Regions from separate parts of the Homo sapiens genome. Here region 2 is linked to region 1. The links are contacts of gene promoters, found by promoter capture Hi-C in human tissues and cell types (Jung and others, 2019). All regions are on one chromosome and are shown on one strand. The core of a region is centred on a gene start or on the middle of the fragment in contact, and the rest is flanking DNA. Distances in the headings are between cores, read along the strand shown.

Evidence for each region. Contacts are between HindIII fragments. The study calls those that stand out against the background at their distance.
Region 2: a fragment that was not itself captured here is called in contact with the fragment with the promoter of PTPRO in region 1 in 1 of the 25 tissues and cell types used here (H1 embryonic stem cells).

The regions. Positions count from the first base shown.
Region 1 is chr12:15,319,891-15,326,787 of GRCh38, forward strand. PTPRO (protein tyrosine phosphatase receptor type O) reads left to right here and starts at 2,618. Exons shown (of 27, transcript NM_030667.3): 1 at 2,618-2,911. The coding sequence starts at 2,837. The region is part of intron 2 of LOC105369673 (a long non-coding RNA gene); the gene reads right to left. The HindIII fragment of the contact is 7,625 bases long and covers 889-6,897 here.
Region 2 is chr12:15,275,938-15,282,834 of GRCh38, forward strand. All of the region lies in intron 2 of LOC105369673 (a long non-coding RNA gene), which reads right to left. Among named protein-coding and RNA genes, the nearest start is that of PTPRO, 43 kb to the right of the region's middle. The HindIII fragment of the contact is 4,141 bases long and covers 1,857-5,997 here.

The DNA of each region.
Region 1 (6,897 bases), core at 1,368-3,867:
TACTAATGCTTTACTACTTACTGTTTACTGTTATTGTTCCTCCAAAGTGGTCCACATAATATATATATATATATATATATATATACATATATATATATATGCACAAAGACAGAAAGAGCTGAACAAATTGTGATGTATGACTAAGAGAAAAACAGAAAGACGCAGCAGAATATGATTATTTAAAAGGGAGCCTCATTGTGAAAGTTCTTTTAGCATTTACAAGATTAATTTATGATCAGAACTGCTTTAAACGCCCTACGCACATCAGGCAAGGCTATATCCATGTATACACACAGACATATGCATACACACAAATGAATATCATCATACAGACCCATAATTCACAGACACATTTTAAAATTAAATGCTACTCCAAAGAGAAATTGTTGGCATCCTGTGAGTGTGATTGTTGCCCTTGGCCTATATATATCTTATGTTCTAGAGATTAGATCACTTTACAGCCACTTCTGAGGGCGAGTGGGAATAAAATGCTGCTTCAGGAGCGTCAAAATAAAAAGAAAACATATTAAACCAAAGTTCCTATAAGTGCAATCCCAAGGATTAAATGTTCAGATAGCCCGTAAGTCTAACCCAGAGGGAGGGAGGAGCAGTTAACATTTTCTCAAAAGAAAGAAAATGTCCAAACCAATGATGAGTGGACATGAGGGACCTGAAGAGAGCATGTGATGGGAATGTGAAAACAAAAGAAGCTTCTAAAAGAAGACACCAAGGATAATATTCTCACAAAAATTCAGACCATCATTCTATATTTTCATGCATATGAATTTTGGTACATATTTCATGCATATGAAATTTGGTACATATATACATATATGTACCATGCATATACATATGCGTACATATACATATACGTATGCATACACATATGTATCTATGTACACACATACACATATGTGTACACACATATGTACATGCACACACATATGTGTACACATATGTACATGCACACACATGTGTGTACACATATGTACATGTACACATATGTGTACATGTACACATGTGTATATATACATATTCACACTTATGTAAACATATTCAATCTAAAGCTTCCTTAAGACACATACAAACAACAACCAAATGATTAGTGTTTGGCCATTGCTCATGCAGCAAAAGCTGAGTAAACACAGCTCTGGATCCTTTTCTCAGGCCACCACTCCCTAGCTGTGTGACTGACAAAGTCTATGCCTGAACACCTACATTCATGACCAGGGTGGCCTTTCCTGTCTCCTGTTGCCCAAGCATGTCTCAGGTATAAATAAGTTCCAATACTGACAGGGCACAGCAAGGGTAATTTACATGACAATAAGAAATGATTTCTATCTGAACAGTGCATACCAGAGTTGATTTCGACAGACTTATCTTTAAAAAAATACACATAACAAAAAAGGAGACAAGTAGTAGATTGGGGACCCACAGCTTGAAAGTCGTTGCTTGTGATTCTAAAACATCCCAGTAAAATTATTCACAGATAATTGTTTAAAAATATAACTGTACATACCGTTGACACTTGGACAACACAGAGAATCACGTAGTTGAAAATCCACATATAACTTTGAACTCATCAAAACCTTAACTACTAATAGCCTACTCTTGACCGGAAACCTTACTGATAACATAATAAACAGTTGATTAACACACATTTTGTGTTGTATGTATTGTATACTGTATTCTTACAATAAAGTACGCTAGAGAACAGAAAATATTATTAAGAAAACCATAAAGAGGAGAAAATACATTTATATTCATTGAGTGGAAGTGAATTATCATAAAAGTCTTTAACGTCATCCTTTTCAGGCTGAGCAGGCAGAGGAGGAGGAAGAGGGTTTGGTCTTGCTGTCTCAAGGCTGGCAAAGGTGGAAGAAAATCTGCATATAACTGGACCCAACAGTTCAAACCCGTGTTGTTCAAGGGTCATACATGTAAAATACTGTGATTTTTCCCCCTTCTATATTCAGCTTCAGGTGACCCGACACACTTTGGTATCAAAAGAGAATCTGAAATGTACAAGAACTGCGGATTTCAAATGGAAAAGGTGCATAATTGTGCTATTTGTTCCTGGGTGAGTGTGGGACGGAGACGGTGAGAGTGTTGAAATGGGATGGAGATAATGGAAGCAGTGGGGAAGGAGAGAAAATACCCTTCCTATCACACACACTCACACACTCACACTACACACTATTTCTACAGTCACAACTACCCAACTGTTATTGATCCTTTATAACTGCAATTGAGTACAGATGTAGGAAGATTGAGAGGGAACTGGGATCTGGCGCCTGGATTGCTCAAGAGAGGTCAGGGAAACCCCTCAGAACTCCTGAGACCCAGAGATTGAGGGAGGGGTTGAGGCGGAGTCTGCAATGGGGGCTGTCCAGCAGTAGCAAGCAGCGGGCCGATCCTGGTGGAGGGTTGGGAGGCTGCTGTCATTTTATGGGTCGGCAGCCAGAGTGAGAGTGTCCCTGCTGCCAGAGGACTACGGCGGGCTGGGCGCGGGGTCCCCGCCTCTCGCTCACCACACAGACCCCGCGCCTCCTCTGGCAGCCGCGGTGGTGGCGGCGGCAGAGCCTCGCCCACTCCAATCCCCACCCTCTCCATCCTTAGTCATTAAAGAACAGCAGCGCCTGGCACGTTCTTGGAGGACCCCGGGCGCAGAGGAGGAAAGGGAGCAGGCGCAGGGGGACTGGAAAGGCAGCATGCGCTCGCCAGGAGCAACCTCGGCGCCCAGGGTCTGAGGCTGCAGCCCCAGTTCGCCATTGTGAGCCGCCGCCGGGGGAGTCCGCTAGCGCAGCCGTGCCCCCGAGTCCCCGTCCGCGCAGCGATGGGGCACCTGCCCACGGGGATACACGGCGCCCGCCGCCTCCTGCCTCTGCTCTGGCTCTTTGTGCTGTTCAAGGTAGGGGAGCTCCTCCACCCCTTTTTCCCAGCGGTCCGGGCGGCAGCCGCGCTCCGGCGCCCTCGCTCTGCCGTTGGGAGCGGCGCGCCCCAGGGCACGATGGCCCAGCCGCGGGAAGCGCCTGCCGTGCAGCCTGGGCGCACGCTTTGTTGTCCTCGCGTGTGCGTGTTCCTGGTGGTCTTGAGAGGTAGGGGGCGGGGGGAAGAATAAGGGAAGTTTGCTCCCTCCGGCTTTCGCCCTTTGTGCTCTTTTATCGCTGCTGAAATCCACATCAAAGGTGGGCTTGTTGGATCGTGCTTTCTCAGGCAAAATGAGGTCACTTTCTTTTCTGGTTTCCACTGCACCCCAACGCTGCTTAACCTTTCCGCCCTCCCTCGCACAGAATGCTTTGTCTTAATTTTCCTTACTGCTGGAATTATACACTGGAGAGTGGAGGGGGACTGAGCTCCCTGGACACAAATGGACTGCCAGGGCTACGTTAGGGCAGAATTTTCTTTGAATAAGGAGTGTCAGGTAGAGAGCTTGGTAAGGATTCCTCTCCCCAACTCCTATCAACATCTTTACAATTCCTTTTAAAAAGTCTCCAGACTTTCTCCACTATATTTACAGATGATATTACCCCTAGATTTAATGGTGGAAAAATATATAATAATAAACTTTTTCGTATCTTCTTTGGAATGTGCTACCCTGAGGTTTTACTTTGAGAAAAATGAAAAGCAAAGGAGTTGCTTTTGAAAAATCAGTTTGACAACTATACTGTACATAAATTTTTTTGAAGAAATGTCAGCTAGATGTTTTCTTGGACGGCGATGTGAAGTTCTGAAGTGATTGTCTATCACTCATGTCTTCAGTGGATCTACTTTAGTTCTGTTGTTAGTCTTTTCCTCTCTCCGCAAAGCAAACTCAAGAATGTCGACAGGTGACTTGGAGCTATCCTTTCAGGACCACAGTGATACCTTCCCTAGAAATGGATGCCAGGTTAATGGATCCAAAGGTTTTCTTATTATAGAGTCACTTCTTGCTTATATGCACCATTAATTATGAATGCCTAAAAAGAATATAATGGAACAGGACCAATGGATTAAGAACAGCATTACTTTTAAATACTCCATATTTTCATTTATCTTAATGAAAAATATAAAAAAAATTCAGGGAGAAACAGCAACAGAATGCCTAAGTAAGACCTTAAAATATATTTAATATGTTTTAACATTTTTTCTTAAATTATCAATAATCATTAATTTTAAAGTATGGTAAATAATAAGCTCAGTTATATGTTTTTACTGTAGGAGGTTGTTCTTTCATACACATCATAAATGCATTAGACTTATTAGGTTGTCTATTAGTCGTTTTCTAACTATTTATCAAACTGTCACAACTATTTTACCTATGCAATAATTGTCATGAACCAAAAATTAGAAACCAAGTCACTATGCATTTTACGAGCAACAGCTAAGAGTTATATGTATGACATCTGATCCAAACCTAACGTTTAGCACAACTGCAGGTTTTTGCGTGAGTTCTTCATAATGAGATAATTCCAGAAATAAGAGAATGACTTGGTTGGGAGTGGGGGTAAGGTTTTGCAATTAAAATAAAATAAATGTGGCCATTGTTTGACTTAAAACTCGATATTGGAATGAGAAAATGCAGTTAGTGATGGTGTAATGAAAATGTTAGTGATTGTCATAGAGGTCCAGCCTGCTTCACATAATAGGTATATTCCTGAACATTGCAGGTAAATGTAAATTATGGCAAACTGCTTCCATAGTAAATACATTGGCAAAGTTTGCCATTTAAATAATAATTATTGTAGTGGGACACATAATTTTGTAAGAAAAATCATTTTCCTTTATTTTATGTGAATGTAATATTTTTGTCACCTGAATATAAACTATATCAGAGGAAAGAAGAAAAAACTGTATATATTAAATACCTTCTATGTGCTGGTTTTTTAGGCATTTTACATACGTTATTTCATTTAATCCTATTTTGCTGCAGTTGACAAGAGTTGTTCAAAAAAAATGGTAAATTGGGCACACAGTGTAATATCTTACATTTAGAGGATAGTATATTACATGGTGCGTTGGGCACATGGTATAATCTCTTTATAATTTGGAGATATTTTTGAATTAAAGGTCCTGATTAAGTGCCAGTAAAACAGATCTACTCAAGCAGGTTGTGACTGGAGGATGAGAAAAAATTCATTATTAAATACCAAACTGCTAACTGTATCTCAATAATAAAATCCAAAATGTTCCACGTGTGCCGAGTCAGAAATGAAACATTCTCTCAACTCTCCCTTGCCAAAATAATTTCCATAGTTTTCACTATAGTTAATACATTTTTCACTACTCCATATGTGTATCCTTTATATAAGAGTGAAAATTCTGAAGGAAAATAAGACAGAGAAATTCAAGTATGAGGCTTAATTTACAGCTTTACATTTTCCACAACTCAAAAATAAGCAGCTGGATATCAGTGGTGGAAAAGTAGGAAAGTTTGAATGTGTATGAATGGCTATAATCAGTTCCATTGAGGGAGACTAAATGTGACTGGCCAAGAAGGTCTTTGTGCCATCGTTCCTTATCCATGGAGCAGTGATGAGCACATATAATCGGGCATCTCAGACTGTCTAAATCATTCACTGCACATTATGAAGCTAATATCTGCATAATTTATCTTGCCTAAACACAATGTTGGTTATGAAAATTTTTATTTTTATATCAATATTGATGGTGTATATAAAATAGAAGAAAAAATGGAACTCTGTTATTATATTGAAGGCTACTAATTTCAAAGTCTTCTATGGATGAATGCAAGTGAGGTATTTATCTGGCGAGCCTCGCTGTTGTGTGTCTTCCCATAATTCCCAGTGAAAGAAATGTAACTTCCTACACTTGTCCTATCTTTACTAAAGCCCTCCTAGAAAATGTCTTCCTGTATCAGTTTACTCAGTATAAGTACTTTGTCTACTAAGGTGCAAATCGTGGAATATGACATCATAGGAATTTGAAGTTGGCCTTCCCTGAAATGTTGCTTTTTAGTAGTCAGCTGGAATATATTCCTAAACTCAAGTGCTTGGCGTGTGTCCTTCTTTTTTAACCCCTTCTCTCTATTTCTTTCTATTTCTGCTTTTACCAGAGATATCATCAAAGAATATCAAATTTAAAAAGGGTCTTAATATTGTACTTTCTGAAACAGGTTTATATTTAATTCTATAATACATGAGTGTTATGATACTGGCCATTCTACTCTTATCCAGGGGAAATATCTGTTTTCCACGGTCTGTCTGCCTTTCCTTTCCTATGTCTCCCCTCGCAACCCCATACACACACACAAAGAAGTTTCACTTTTCGTGGTTGAGGTTTCATCCATAAATTGCACAGTGTTGGCAGGTGAACCATAATCCTTTCATTTTGCTGGAGCAGCTTAGATCCTTTCCATCACAATGAAGTTTGCTGCCCTTAACTCCCATGTCATCTGACTCCTTTAATAAATCATATTGCCAACCTTTTGGAGAAACCTTTTTACATGTGACATCCCCAGTAGGTTGGCAAAGGCTCCCTGGGCCATGCTTCTACAGATGATCGAGTAATAATCCTTCCCACTGTGAACATATGTTTCCTTTTGTTCTTTGTTTTGTGAGAGACTATCGTTGTGTGAAGGAATGAAAAATTCACATTACACCTCTGCCTCATTTTGGCCCAAAAGAAAATGCACATTTATGTGGATAACTGATTAAAAACAATATGAGTTGTACTTTATTTTAAAATGTAACACTATTTCTACTATCTAAATATCCAACTTAAAGGTATTTAAACGTATAAGCAGATTTACTCCTGAACCTTATAAATATAATTCTAACTTGAGGGGTTGTAAAAGAATGTTTGATGTCAGATACAGTTGATGCACTTAAGTAAAACATTGTAATTGGTAGCAGTGTGGCACAATAGAAGGCTTAACAACAATGACCACAAGTTTTC
Region 2 (6,897 bases), core at 2,677-5,176, 43 kb before region 1:
TATTGATTGATTGGTTTTGCTTCCTAAAATTCAAAGACATCAAAATATCCAATAGAAAACCTAGCACATCCTTTCTAGTAGCAGTCATTTGGCTGCATGGATTAACAATCCAACCTTCCACCGGATGAAATAACTTTTGGGAAAAAATGAAAATTTTTTTTTTCCAGAAGAGAAGATGCTAAGCACCAAAGAGATGAGCTGGAAGGAAGGTCAGTTTTTCCCCAGTGCATGAAGAAGACTGATTCTAAAGCAAGGAATTCCTGGCAACTTGGCGGTTCTTCGCTCAGTGTCAGAATTTTAAAAACTAACAAATGTCATATTTCAGTTGGCCACAAGATGGCAGGATTTCGGCACATTCCCACAGATAATGGCCTCCTCTTCCCATCAGGATTAATGGATGGTAGTGATTTAAGCGTGACACTCTCTTCTCAAGAGACTTCATACTCTCATAAATGAAATACGAATATGGTTCAAGGACTTATGTTTTATAGTTTTAAAATACCAAGAGTCAGCGATTCACATAATATAACTGGCATCCACAAATGCTAAAGCTATGGAAAAGGTTCTAGTTTTGTTAATGGGCCTCTCATCTATCTCACTGGATGAGGCCTGGGAACCACCTGGACTCTGTTTTCCTTTGCTAAGCCTTTCTCAGAAGGAGCAAGTCTTGCTGCTACTGTGGACACACAGCTTCTGGGAGTTCCACAGGACCACGTGCGGAGAAAGGAAGGGAAGCAAACTTTGAAGGTGGAAATAAAGGAAAAGGTTGTGGGGGAAAAGAGAATGTTTTCACTTTGAGTTAAAAAAAAAAAAAGAGGGACAAAGAAGTGTCCAGTAGGGTACAGCCTGTCAGAAAACCCCAGACTGTGATACAGCTCTAACATATCCATTCATTCGTTCATTCATTTGTCCATCCGGTATTTATTAAGCAATTGTGTCTCAAGGAATGGAAAAAGGGGAAAAAATATTCTACCCTGAAAGAGCCAGTCCATTAGAACATTTCTTGAAAAGACTGAGAAAAAGAAAAATTCCATATGATAACTAGACTAAAACAAAAGAAAACTACAGAGCGATTGGAAAAGGAATTGGCAGAATTACAAACCATGTGAAGAATGAAGAGGGCGCCCTGCAGGGGTTATCAACAAGGAGTAATAGGGGGCCATGAGATCAGATAAAAAGTTAGAAACTGGGTGCTCCTGGGGAGTTGGGGGTTGAACATTTATTCGTAGGAAGGTTGGGACCCCATTTGGTGGGAGGAAGTTGGGACTGGAATTAGAAACAACAACAAAAAGTACTTGAGTTTCATCAGAGATTTCAGGACTGGCTCGTTGTATGACCTTGAGCGATTAGCTAAATCTTTCTAAGCTTCAATTCCTTCATCTGTAAAATGGATCCTGCAATAACTAACTAGGGGAGCTAATAAGGATGATAAAGGTGAAAACATAAGGGAGTGTGCCTGGAATAGAATTGTTCATTATATAATGTCAGTTGTTCTTCTTCCCTGTTGGACCATTTAAGAAAGTTAGCAAAAAATATACGGAGAGCAGGGCCCTCCGTGCTGAATAGCTAAACAGACACACTTTGATCCCAGAAGCCCAGCTCCTCCCCGGCACTCATACCTGCAGTAAAGGCAACGGTGATGGATTCCTGGCCTCAGAAATCCTGAGCTAGATTGATAGAGGCCCTATGCTGCATTCCACCAAGAGGCATGGAAACACACTGTTTGCCTTTTTATATAAACATATATACATGCTCCTCATGATAAGGAGAAAGAGAGAGAGACAGAGAGTTTAAACTATGAACCCTCTTTACACAGTACAATCCCATACTCCTGTTCATGTAACCACACAGCAGGCTGGGTTGTGGTCTCCTAGTTTTGACTGATGCGTGTGTGTGTGTGTCCGTGTGTGTGTGTCTGTGTCTGTGTATGTGTGTGTGTGTCTGTGCCTCTGTGTGTGTATATCCTCATATATGCATGTCCATGTACCTGTACCTGTAACTCAGATGCTGGCCATCTCCAGATGAACCCCATCTTTTCCCCTTTCCAACCTGGAAGCTGATGGTAGCATTTTTCTACACTCTACACAAAGGAAATTCACTCCACAGAGCATTAGGAGTGATGCAGAATTTGCTGAAGTCTTCTTCACCCTATGGCAATTCTTTTCTAAGTCTTCCTTCACCACCACCACCAGTTGGGAATTTGCTTCTCTTTGACCTTCCCTAACACTGCACCGAGCCTTGAACCTGCCCACTGCCCTCCTTTATAATACTGAGCCTCTGCCTCCTTCCCCTTGAACTTCAGCCCTCAGGCTGAGGCACTTTTCTGATGTACAAGGGTCTTTTCAAAGCTTCTTTTCAGCAAAGATGATCCCTTCCTAAAAATAATTTCTGTGCCAGTTATCATAAAGATTAATAATTTTCTCCACATTATAATGTCTATATGACTATAACCGCATACATTATTACATATAGAAATGTTTTTAACATGAAATGGAATCATATGATCATATCATGCATATTGTTTTCTGATTTTCAGTTGCTCCTCAATTATATATTTTGTGTATCTTTCCAACTTATTAGAAATAAGTCAAACTCATTTTTTTAAATTACTGAATAAAATTAGTACTTTAATGTGAGACAAGGTCAATTTCTTTGTGCTGCAATTTTGTTATTGACAAGATAGAACATAATAACACAGAGTTATAATGAGAATTCCTCAGCTACAATATTAGAGACCTTCAGTTGCTTAGAAGAAGTGAGATACTTAAATAATAAAAATTACATTAGCTATATAAATAATGCTAATAAAAGTTGCTAATATTTCATCAGCATTTTTCTATGTGCCAGGACCTATTCATACTCATTTATATGCAACAACTCATTTAATCCTCATAGCAACCCTATGAAGGAGATACTATTATTATTCCCATTTTATAGATGATCTTTCTGAGTCATGGGAAAGTCAGTAAATTGCTCAAGGCAACATAGCCAATAAGTGACATTGCCAAAATGCGTGAGTCTGGCTCTAGAGTCTGTGTTGTTAATCACTAAACCATCTATCATCATCTCCAACAGGAAATACTTTGTACAGGCTTGCTTGCCAGGGACCTGAACTGGCTGTCGTTGACCAAATTTAATAAACGTGCTCACTGCAAGTGGCGCTCCAGCTGATCCTGGCTTGGGGCTCTCTGCACTGCTCCAAATCAGGCAGCCAGGCCAAAAGAAGATATGTAGAGTCCATGGGGAACAAAGCGAGGCAAGGTCTGCTGAGCAAGGCATGGCTTAGAGGGAAAAGTGGGGTTGTGGGGAGAAGCTACAAGGAGACAGAATAAAATAATGAAGAGGAGTGCTGCCAGGCACCTGGCCCAGCTGAGGAAGCCTCTGAGGTGCGCATGCCAAATCTCAGCAGCTCCAAGCCCAGCTCCCAGAATAGCTGGAAGGAGGCACACTGCCAGCGAGCCACTTATTACAGCCAGAGCTGGGAGCACTTAATCAGATGCATCCGGTTTGTGTTCACAAGATATTAGGCGGAAATATGTGGTCAACTGCAATGAATTGGCATGCCCTGTAGTGGGCCAGCCATTGCCGGAAGCCATGTCTCCCACAAATTGAAACCTAATCTTTCTCTCCTCTAAGTGCCTGCCACAACTAACTGATTATGTACATTTAATCTCTGTCTGATATACTATCTAAGGAAGAGGAAATATTTCTTTTTTGTGATGGCTCTATGGAATTGAGAGTGCATAAAGCTAGTAGGACCACATACATGGAACACCCAGGGCAGGTATCCATCAGATAAGGCCAGTCTCCGACCTCCAGCAGGTTACTACACAGTGAATGTCACCTGATGCATCAGGCCCAGGAAGGCTGGCATAGAAAACGTGAAAACATCATGGAGAGGGTTAAGATGACCCTAAGGATTGCTGCCAGGAATTCCCACAAATGACATATCATTGTTGCTAGTTGGCTCCAAAGTCCTCCTGAATTAAGAGCTAACAGTTGGCGATCTCAGTGTATTTGGGGTGTTTACTATTCTTTTGAGTATTTTTTTTCTCCTAAAATTGCATTGCAGACACTCCTGGTGTCCTGTCCAGATTCCCTTACCAGGCCAGTGCACTCATCAACCAGTCGCTGTGACTGTTCCAGAGGATTGCCACCTTACCAGGACATGACTGGAAAAATTGTACTAATCCCACAAGTGTCCTATGGCCTGTGGCAGACTGAAGTGAGGTTACAACAGTTCAGCCACCTCACCCATGGGCAACGCAAACTTTTTATTGCATTTAAACATCAAAATTCCTTGGGGGATCAGTCTGAAGCTAATATTCTCCTAAAACCTTGATTTACCTAGCTTATCTTGCCCTATCTTGCTTCCCTTCCTCCCCTATAGCTTTGTCCTGAAAGTGTTCCCTCAGTAATTCACCTGGACAAAAATCCCTGCCTCAGGCTCTGCTTCTCAGAACCCTGGCCTAAAACAGCATGTAAAATCCTTGTCAGCAAAGACCTTATAGTAAACACACGCCACCAGAGCAATACAATGCAGTTTCCCCAATCTCAGCTATTCATACACACTGCCTACATTATTTTCCCATATTTGCATATTGCTTATACAGCTATTTACCTAACAGTTGTTTGTAAGTAGTTTTCAAACTAACTCCTTTTTCAAAAAACTAGCCTTACCCTAAAAAAATCATAATTCTGCAACCCTGATTTTGAGGCACTAATGAGATTTACCAATTACACAGTGAAATAATGTGTGTATATACATTTACATATGGGCATTAATCTATGTATAACTTAAAATTATTCCATCTTTCACCATGAATTATATGTACATGAACCACATCTTTAAAAACATCATAAAATGAAAAGCATGGTTTGTAAAATCTGTTATTCTACTTTATAGTACTGCTACAGAGCTATCTCATATTGAAGGTAGAATAAATTCTTGCTGATGTTTCTAAATTCAATAAATACTTTTAAATTTTCTCTTAGCCCATGATCTTGCCAATAGTTCTAAGGGGGATGAGTGAAACATGACGTAAAAAGAGGAAAGAAGTATCAATTTTTTAAAATAAAGAAATAATTAAAAAATCCTTAGCATTCTATCTTCAGTGCTTAGATTTTTCTGGGATCATCTGCTAATCTGCTCCTGTCACACAGGAACACTTTACTCAATGATTGAATTGACAGTGACTTGCAAGGAAAGAGGAGCTTCCAGAAACTTGAATTTCCTATTGCAAGGATGATTATCTGACATCATGAAACTCAGATACTCCTTTCAGAAAAGGAAGAGCCATTGGCAGCCATTATGGCAGGTTTTGGACCATACAGGAATGCTTGACATTGCACATTTTCCTCCAAGTTGTAGCAATGAGTTAAACCGCATGACCCTCACAAAGAGTATTTCAATGTGGAAGGTAAAAAGCCAACTGTCAACAAAATACTTTAGAGTCAGGATTTTGATTCTCATCTCCAGCGTAATGTCTTTTCTGATCCATTCATCCTTCATACATTCTTTTGGGAACAATCTAGTACTGAGGAAGTAGAAGCCTAAAGACCACAGTATCTTGAAATACATGCTTTGCACAGTTGCAAAGGTTGCCAAAATCATACATTTCAAACCTGACAGGACAAGTTTAAAATTAGACACTACAGAAACATTGCACCTCTAAATCAGGGAAATGAGTGCAAGCTTGGTATTAAAAAAACCTACTTAACTGTCATAAAATTCTTTCCAAAACTAAAACCTGTTCTTTAGAAAGTAATTCTTCATGTTTTTATCCACCTGGACATGCTTCATTGAATGACAAGATCTGCTGACAGCAGAACTTCAGCTCCATTAATGTATCGATTAATATATCTGTGCATAGAATTTCCTGGTACTGGGTATAGGATTTCTCTGATGCAGGAAAGTACATCAATTTGGTCTTATTCTTTAACTGGCAAGGAGTTTTCTTTTACAAGAGATTTGGTTATATATTCCAGTAGTAGTTACATGAGTTTAATTTTTTTAAGTGCAATCCCTATATGTCCCTTCATTCTCAGAAGGTTTTCTTCTTAAAGGCTCGTTATTGTGACAGTAGTTGCCTGAGTGATCTGTCTGCTTCCATTACTCAATAGCTATAGCCTTAGGAGTCTAATTCTGTCCTTTCTTGTAGCTCTCTAATTTAGCTGAGTGTATCAACAAGAGACATTATACCTTAAAGCCAAGCCAATCCTCTCTCCATGGTGGAATGTGGACCAAAATATAAGAACTTTTAATTATATATTTTAAATTTAAAAAATAAGAAAGTAAGCTTTTCTAACACATCATATATGGATTTATACTGGTGTCCTAATGTATTCATATGGAAAAGAAGCAAGTGTCACATATGGTCACCAAGGCATGCTGGGAGAAAGGCAGAAATTCTAAGTATAGAGGAGGGGTCAGTGCTGGCTTCATGCCATAGACTTCATGCCATCTTGCAAAAAACATGGACTAAACATAATACCAATAATTCACAGACAAAGAAAAATTGGCAGAAACTTCCATTTCTAATTTGATCTCTTTATAAGCACATCAAAAGGTTGAAAACAATGAGGATGTAATTAGATAAGACAGGAAGTAAGCCAAAATGATTTGAAATTATCCAGGCTGTTTGAATCTCATGCTAGGTGTGTTTGCTGCTTTGAAATGTTTGCAAATGATAATGTGGAGCCATCATGATTAGTGAGACGTTTGGGATCTGAGCATCCAGAGAACGCACACAAACATTTACAATTTTTTTCCAGTGATGTTTCAAGCTGCATTAAGCCCAATTTGCTGACCTGTTCAGGGAGAACTAGTGATTTTCAGTAATGTGCTACCCAGAAGATATATTTCTCAAAATAAATATATAATCTATTCCTTCAAGG